2 separate regions of the Homo sapiens genome follow, and region 1 is linked to region 2. Evidence: promoter capture Hi-C in 16 types of primary human blood cells and fetal thymus (Javierre and others, 2016). All regions are on one chromosome and are shown on one strand. Each heading gives the region's core, a stretch centred on a gene start or on the middle of the fragment in contact. The rest is flanking DNA. Distances are from core to core; before and after follow the strand shown.

Region 1 (4,474 bases), core at 312-2,811, 500 kb before region 2:
AGCTGGTATCTATGATTGTGACCTCATTTGGAAACAGAGTCTTTACAAATGTAACCAAGTTAAGAAGAAGTCATGTTAGTTTAGGTTAGGACCCAATCCAGTGACCAGCATCCTTAAAAGAATAGAGAAATTTGGACACAGAGACACATAAGAATGCCATATGATGATCAAGGCACAGATTGGAGTGATACATCTATGAGCAAAGGAATACGAAGGATTGCTGGCAACCACTCATATCTTGGAGAAGGGCATGGAACATTCTCCTTCAGAGCACCGAGAGGGAACCAAACATGCTGACACTTTAATCTTGGATTTCTAACCTCCAGAATTGTGGGTAAATAATTTTTTATTGTTTTAAGCCCCCCAGTTTGCGGTATTTTGTTATGGCAGCCTAGGAAACCAACTAATAAGCTATCTTGCCAAAAAAGTCTCTTGATATCTAATCTCAATATCTCATATTTAATTTTCAGCAAAATTGTACTAACCAATTTTATACACTTTAAAACTGAGCAAATTTATTCTTTTTTACAAAAAAAAAAAGCCTATTGTGAGTTTTCATAGACACTCTTAAAGAATTTATCTTAGCTCCTTTAAGTTTTTCTCATTCCTATATATCAGAGAATCCAAATTTTAGAGTATGTTTTTGTCTATTTTGTTATGTATGTTAAGTCTAGTTTAATCAGTAAAGTCAATCAAAAGCTACATTCTTCTAATTTTCCCTTTAACTTTGTTACCCCATTACTTGCCTTCAAATCCCATTAATATGTCTTCTTAAGATATAGACTCCATAGTCCACAAAGGAAAATAATTGTCATAAATCAGGAAGAATTCATAGAGTTGAGGTTTCACTTATGTCAACATAACCTCTATTCTTGATCCCAATTCATTTCTCATCAGCCAAACTTCTCAGATTTTAGATATCAGCATTAAGTTCAGAGTACAGGTGCAAAGGGTCTTCCACAATCAATCATACATTTTGAAATAATTTCCTAGTTTAGTCTGGCCGAATATACTGCTGACCTTCAGATCCATAACAAAAGAACCATTTGTTTAACCAAGATTTTGTCAGACAAGATGAAGGAATTAGCTGGAAGTCAAGAACATGACTTCTTTACTTATTAAGATTAGCAATACAAATATACAGAAGCCCAGCCAATCCACATATCACTTACAAGACTTTGTTAAGAAAATCTATAGAAAACCAAGAAAGAATATAGGATACATATAACAATATATTTTATTTGTTCCGTTATATGACATTTGTGCTGCATCATGTTTAAGGTTTTCTATAAAAACACATTTTAATCTCTTTGCAGGAGAAATAAAGAAACATCATGACACCATTTGAAAAAATAAATTGACACTTAGATTTGGCATATTTAGTCAGTTTTTAACTTCAATGCTTAGAAAGAATGGTGTTAATCTCTCTTTTCTTGTCACTGCATGCTATATAAGGAACAGCAAATTGCTTGTATAAAGTTCAAACTAAATATAAAATCGTTTTGTTCAGAACATGCCTTTACTCAGTGGTTAGGTGGCATTTTCTAAATGAGCCCTCTAAACAGTATTGAAGAAATTTTCTCTAAAAGAACATTTTCTACCACTTGAAAGGTCATTTTATCTTGAGAATTTTTCTGTCATGCTTGTGAGTGCACTATCTACCTGCTGTAGGGCTTTTTGACCTCTACCAAAAAGAAATGGGCAAATTTAATTTCTTGATCGTAACTCACACGTGCTACTCTTCCTAAGAGTCACTGTTAATGTAAGGTCATTTTATGTGGAAAATGAGTTAAAAATTTGGGTATTAAATTGCTAGAAGAGCACTTTTGATCTCTACTTTCCATCCAATAGTCTTCTATTATAAGCAAGAATAATAAAGCAATGATGAAGAGGGCATGAAAAGCACAAGAAACCAAAATGGCAGCAAGCCCCTTGAGCAGTGGTTCTCAATTCCAACTGCACATCAGAATCAGCTGGGGCATGCTGAAAAATACCAATGCCTGTGTCTCACTCCTAGAACTTTTGATTTAATTAGTCTGGGGTGGGGCCCAGGCAGTGGTATATTTAAAAGCTCCATAGTAATTCTAAAATGCAACCAGGTTTGGTACTCACTTTCTAAACTAGAAAAATTATCCTCCATTTTTTTCCTTGATCACTGAGATCTTTGACAATTTGTTGAAAGCTCTGGCCATCTCCTCCCAAGTCATACCTTAAAGCCAGGGAGATTACGGACATCCACCTCTTAATCCTTATCCAATGATGCTTTTAAAAGAATTGGGCATATGCCCAAGTCTCCCAGTGAGAATCTATAGTTTAGGGGGAAAATTAAATGGTAAAAAAATATAATAGTAGTCTGGATCCAATCAGCTCTAGAACCATTCAGTGATTTAATTAGGGGAAGGTTAATATGAATCATAACTAAAGTGATAAAAGAGTAACTGGAGCCAGGCGTGGTGGCTCACGCCTGTAATCCCAGCACTTTGGGAAGCCAAGGCGGGTGGATCACCTGAGGTCAGGAGTTCGAGACCAGCCTGGCCAACATGGCGAAACCCCATCTCTACTAAAAATACAAACATTAGTCAGGCATGGTGTCAGGTGCCTGTAATCCCAGCTACTTGGGAGGCTGAGGCAGGAGAATTGCTTGAACCCAGGAGGCAGAGGTTGTAGTGAGCCGAGATCGCACCATCGCACTCCAGCCTGGGGGACAAGAGCAAGATTCCATCTTAAAAAAAAAAAAAGAGTAACTGGAGATATAATGAAACTCTGTATGGTATCCTAGGGCTGAGGGAGAGTACATAAGGAAGGATGAACATGGAAAGAGGATCCCTCCATAAGACTAGGGTACAGAATAAGGTTGAACCCACTGGATAGCAGCAGTTTGCTAGTTTGCCAGATGATGTGGTTTGGATTTGTGTCCCCACCTAAATCTCTTGTTGAATTTTAATTCACAATGTTGAAGGAGAGGTCTGGTAGGAGGTGACTGGATCATGGAGGTGAAGGTGAACTTCCCTCTTGCTGTTCTCATGATAGTGAGTTCTCACAAGATCTGGTTGTTTAAAAGTGTGTAACACTTCCCCCTTCTCACTTTCCACCTTCTCCAGCCACATAAGATGTGCCTGCTTCCCCTTTGCCTTCCACCATAATTGTAAGTTTCCTGAGGCCTCCTCAGCCATGTTTCCTGTACAGCCTGCAGAACTGTGAATCAATTAAACCTCTTTTCTGTATAAATTACCCAGTTTCAGGTAGTTCTTTATAGCAATGTGAGAACAGACTAATACACCAGACTATAGCTGATCTGTTGTTATGGAACAGAAAGCAAGCAACACTCCAGGAAGCAGGAAAGATGGAGGAGTCACAGCTGGTGATTGAAGTGTCAGTGGAGTGGAGGCTCCAACTTGGCTGGAAACCTAGAGAACAGGATGTCCATATGGGAAGGGCTGAAAAGGGAGATCCCTAGGATACTCTGGGGCTGCAAGGTCAATGTGTATTCTGGCCGTGTGGCTATGGCGGAACTCCACTAGATGTCCCCGCACCCACACCACCAGCCAACCATATTGCATCAAGACACCATAAGCAAAGGCTTTTTTCATGCAATGTCCCTCTAGCATCTTCTTCTAAGAAAGCTTAACACTCTGTTTAGTTTTAAGAAGAAATGCATAAAGGAATTACGCAATCTATTATGACCAAGAAGGCCTTAACATTCCCCGCAGCTTCACTAAACTTTCAATAGATTTCTTCTGGACTCTAGATATCTGACTTCCCTCTTTTTAGAGCATTTCCTTTAGAAAACTTGCAGTTGTAAATTCTTTCTCTGCTCCTTTGAGATGTAAATCTTCTCTGGGCTTTTGCCAGTTTCACAACACAGGACTGTCTTTCTCAGGGACCTGGGCACCATTCCTTTGATATGTACTCATCAGGAGAAATAGCACAGCACCCATAATTCTCAGTCCTTATGGGAAGGAAAGATCCTAACTTCTCTAAGTGTAAATTAGCATATATGTGTGACGTAATCACATTGACAAGCTTCCCCCTAACTTTTCCTCCAGTACTTTTCCACCAGCTCATTCCAGCACTTAAACTCTCCCAGTTTTTGTATCTACGGAGTTCAGCTCAAGGTCCGTATCCTATTGCAGTATTCTTGAATAAAGTCTTCCTTGCCTGCTTAACATGTCCTGTTTAAAATTTTTTGAGAACTATTGCAGAGCATATATTAAAACAAAAATTTGAACCTCAGAGGCAGTAAATTGAAAACTGACACAAATGCTTTCCTTGTGTTTATTTAAAACACATGACACAAAACTGACCATTTTTATCATTGATTAAAATGTACTGAGTTGTAGTGTTTGAAGAAACATTTCCAAAGAGGACTTGATCATTTGAAAGCATAGAAGAAAAAGAGAATTTGACATCAATACAGTAAACACTAAGGAAAATTATGAATGATAGAAGGTTTGGCAGTTTTTTTCCTTCTCCA
Region 2 (4,015 bases), core at 1,469-3,968:
AATAGAAGTGAATCAGGCAGAAATTTATGTCAGAAAACATCCCGTCATTCTGTGTTCTTGACAATATTTCCATTTCACTAGCAGCTACTCCTACAATCTAAAAAAAAGGGGGGGTATCATTACACATAAAGAAGCTTATAAATCCAACCAAAATGAGCTCAAGAGCTTAAAAATACTATTTGAGGATAACATAAACTAAGGCATATAATCTGCTCTAAACCATGAAAAACTTCCCATTTTATTAAGCAAGATTTTAAAGGTCTGAGATGGCACATGACTTATCTGTCAGGCTTAAATCTGTGTAATAAATATGACTAGAATAATTTAAATCCTCTAAAAATGGGAAAATAACTATTTTCTCCATAAACCATTTTTCCCCACACATCTTAATGAAGAAAGAGAAGGGGTCATTGGAATCCAAAATTAAATAAAATTTGTTAGTACAATCATAACTTTTTTGCATAATAATATCTGAACTTACTGAGGGATTCCAATATAAAGAAATACAATCTTTTATGTTTAGTCTCACAAAAAATCTAATAATCATCAAAACTCATGTTATCCTAACCTCTGAAAGCAAATCTAATACTTTCCTAAAGCAGGTAACCATCAATCCAGGCTGTCCTTCCCTTCCCTTATTCAGAAAGACACAACCTTGCACTTACTTTTACCACCTCCCACACACTCCACCTCACCACCATCACCACCAACCTGAAGCAATAGGCCCTTCTGTTTATAACATTATAAATAACAGCTTGCCACTTTAATTCCTCCAGCCTATGAACTAATCCTTCATTTCAACATTAAATTATCTCTTGATTTAAATGTTAGGTACAAAAATCCATCTGTGGCACGTAATTCCAAAAGTTCAAATTTGCAATAAAAAAAGTCTGGACTTTCAAGCCCCTTTCTCTTTTTATCTAGAAAAATAAAGTTGTATTTTTCAAAGGGTTAAACCTTTTTAGTTTTCAAATTGGGTTTTTTTTGTGTAATTTATTCATACTTAATATCTGTGAAGGTCTTTAACTCTTGATAATAGCTCTTACTTTTTCAAATACTTTTTTTGTACTAACCATGACTTATTACATGAAGTCCTAAGAACAGTTTCTATAAACACAGTTATATTCAGAATATGCCTTTACACATGGCATTTATTATGCACACTCTGTGTATCAATTGGTTACATGAAGCATGTTCAAATACTGTGCAACAGGTCTTGCTATTGTGTAAACACACACTCCCAGCAAAATGACAATAAGCTTCATAATATCAACAATATAAGAAAAAAAATCACATTATTCCTTAAAAAATTATTCATAATTCGTTTGAGAGTTCAGAGGACATCAGATCTAATCAAAAGAAGTAAATGTTACTAAGACCCTCTTACTGGCTTTGTATCCCACCGTATATGTGATAAAGTTGTGTTACAGCCCAGGTGTATACACGCTTTCATTGATTTATTGCACATTACTGGCTTCAGTGCTGACTTGATGACAGGAAGAGTACTTTGGCAGAGGTCTGACAAGTCCCTATCCTTAAGTTCCCTTTTGCTTTGTGCCGTCTGTTCCCAAAGCTATCAAAGTAAAGCAAATGACAGTCTAAAACCTCCCCGTTTTGCCACGAGAGTGTGAAATCAAATTAAAAACACACCTCAAAACTATTACATTGGGCCACGTTTATTTTCAATTGGCGGGGGAGGGGGAAAGAAGACACTTAAAAAGAGATGGATTTCATGTCCTCTGTGTAGCCAGATCTAGTTACAGTGTATTAAGTTATGTCTAAATGAAAAAAAAAAAGATTCTCAAGTGTTTTATCACAAAGTAATGTTATTAAACACATCTAGTGTTCCCACGCTCTCCTCTAGATTCTTTGATTTTTAACCTCCTTTGTTAGGCACCAAACACTGGGAGAAAGATTTCAGGAACAATACCTAGGCAGCACATGATGCCAGGGAATTAATTCTGTCTTCCCCGAGCTGTTTATCCATCATAAACTCAAGCTGCCTTATTTAGCTACACGGTTGCTATATGTAGGACTTCTCTTCCCTGGGTGAAAAGCATGGACCGGCTACAATTGTGTCTTTGAGCGCGCAGCATCGTGCTTTGTGCTGCCGGGGATAACGGATTCTGGGTCTCACACGCATCCGTCACCTAAAACACCCTTAAACTGAACCAGGGTCTCCACAGCTGGAAGGGAAACAACGTGCTGGGACCCAGGCTGCTCTGAGCTACAAGGATCCCAGGAGTGAAGGAAATGTTTCAGGGAGCAGCCCAGGCAGCGGGGGGAGGAAGAAAGCCCTCGCACTCTTACCTCCACATTGAAATACTGCTCCGTTCCGCAGACTGTAGCACATAAAATCCAAAGCAAGGTTTGCAAGAAAAACACCCCCGAATGATGCACGAAATCCAACCGTCTTCCAGTGCTGAATGTGAGTAAGATCATAGTGAACTGTGCTTCAATGGATGGACGAGCTCCCCTTCGTTTTCTCCCTCTCTCCCTCTCCCTCCCTCCCTCGTTTCCTTTCAAAAAAAAGTCCTCCGGGTGGGTAAGGAGCCTGCAGGTTCACCCACAGCCGGGCAAGGGGAGGAGACAGGGGCCCCGCGCTCGGCAGCCCCCGAGAGGCAGCGGCGAAGACAGGGTCAGCAGTAGTTCCTGTTCACCATCCTCCGGGGTCAGTCACCGGGAACGTGGCGCCTAAGTTCACCGGCGGTTCCGGCTCAAAGAGCCTAGTCGCAGCCGCAGCAGCAGCAGCCGCCGCCGCCGCCGCCGCCTCCAGCCCGTGCGTCCTCCTCCTGCACTGCCTACTCCTCCTCCTCCTCCGCCGCCGCCGCCGCCCCCAGCTCCTGCGGGAAGGGCCTCCGCCGCTCCTCACTCTCTCGCCTCTGCTTCTCCTTCCCTCCTCTCCTCGCTCCCCTCCAGAATGTTCATCCGTAATCTACATAACTCCTCCTTCCCGGGGTCTGCCTGGCTCTCGGGGCCCTTGGCGCGCGCGCGCGCGCGCACACACACACACACACACACACACACAGAGACACACCGCGACACACACACACACACGCGCGCATACACACAGCCCGACACACACGCACGCGCGCTTCTTAAAGGAGACGGCTCATAAAGGATTCCCCACTACGGTAGGGCGCACCGGAGGTATCCAGCCCGCGACAAGGGCCCTGGTTTGAGCACAGCTCTTCGACAGTATCTCCCATCCCGCATCCCCGAGGCAGGCACCCAGGAACTTGGGCGGCTCCATTCTTTCTTCCCGCCCACCCTGCCGCCTCGCATCTAAAAACGAGTGCGCCCCTCTCCAGCCATGAGCTGGGTGGGGCTCAGGCTGCGGACCCTAGTGGGGCCTGGGGAGCGGCCCAACCCTGGTCCTGGAGAGCGGTCGGCATTCCTGAGGAAGCGGCCCTGGAAGAATAGGGGCGCTGGGAATCAGAGGAGCGCCTGGTCACTGAGCGCCCCTGGGTGGCTCGGGTCGGTGGCCGGGGCTGACCAAGTTTGGGAAGACTGAGATAGCAAATCCCGAACGTCCAAAACTTTGTTGGGGTCCCGAGCCTGTGGCCTGGTGTCTTCCTGAATCCCCTCTACCATAGCTACATTCCGCCTTCCAGGCTTGAGGAGTAGGCACAGGGTTTTGGTGGCGGACTAGACAAATACAGAAGCGGGATGAAAACGCTCACTTTCCAAGTGAACGGTGGACACACGCGCACAGTGGGACCCGGGAGAGATGGTCCTGGGTGTTAACAAAACATCCGATGAGAGGGATGGGGGCGCTGGAAAGAAACCGGCTGCGGGAGCCAGGGGAAGGGTTGGGGAAAGAAGGAGAAGAAGCAGCCTGAGGAAAGGCGAGTAAAGCAGCTGGCAAGGGCGGGAGGAAGAGGCTGCTCGCAGACCGAGCGGGGGAGAGGCTGGCGGGAGCTAGGAGAGCTGCAGGCAAGAGGGGGAGGCGGCTGGCAAGAAGCACGGGCGAACGCGGGCAGGGAACTTCAGAGGAGGCTGCCAGAAAGGACTG

Evidence for each region. The method cuts DNA at HindIII sites, captures the fragments that hold promoters and counts their contacts. A CHiCAGO score of 5 or more calls a contact.
Region 1: a contact is called between a fragment that was not itself captured here and the fragment with the promoter of MMP16 in region 2, in 1 of 17 cell types (endothelial precursors). The highest score is 6.7, in endothelial precursors.

What each region holds. Positions count from the first base shown.
Region 1 is chr8:87,828,772-87,833,245 of GRCh38, forward strand. No RefSeq gene overlaps it. Among named protein-coding and RNA genes, the nearest start is that of DCAF4L2, 43 kb to the right of the region's middle. The HindIII fragment of the contact is 4,120 bases long and covers 1-3,621 here.
Region 2 is chr8:88,324,765-88,328,779 of GRCh38, forward strand. It overlaps MMP16 (matrix metallopeptidase 16), which reads right to left and starts at 2,719. Exons shown (of 10, transcript NM_005941.5): 1 at 2,311-2,719. The coding sequence starts at 2,442. LOC105375630 (a long non-coding RNA gene) reads left to right here and starts at 3,080. Exons shown (of 8, transcript XR_001745653.3): 1 at 3,080-3,134. The HindIII fragment of the contact is 7,293 bases long and covers 1,258-4,015 here.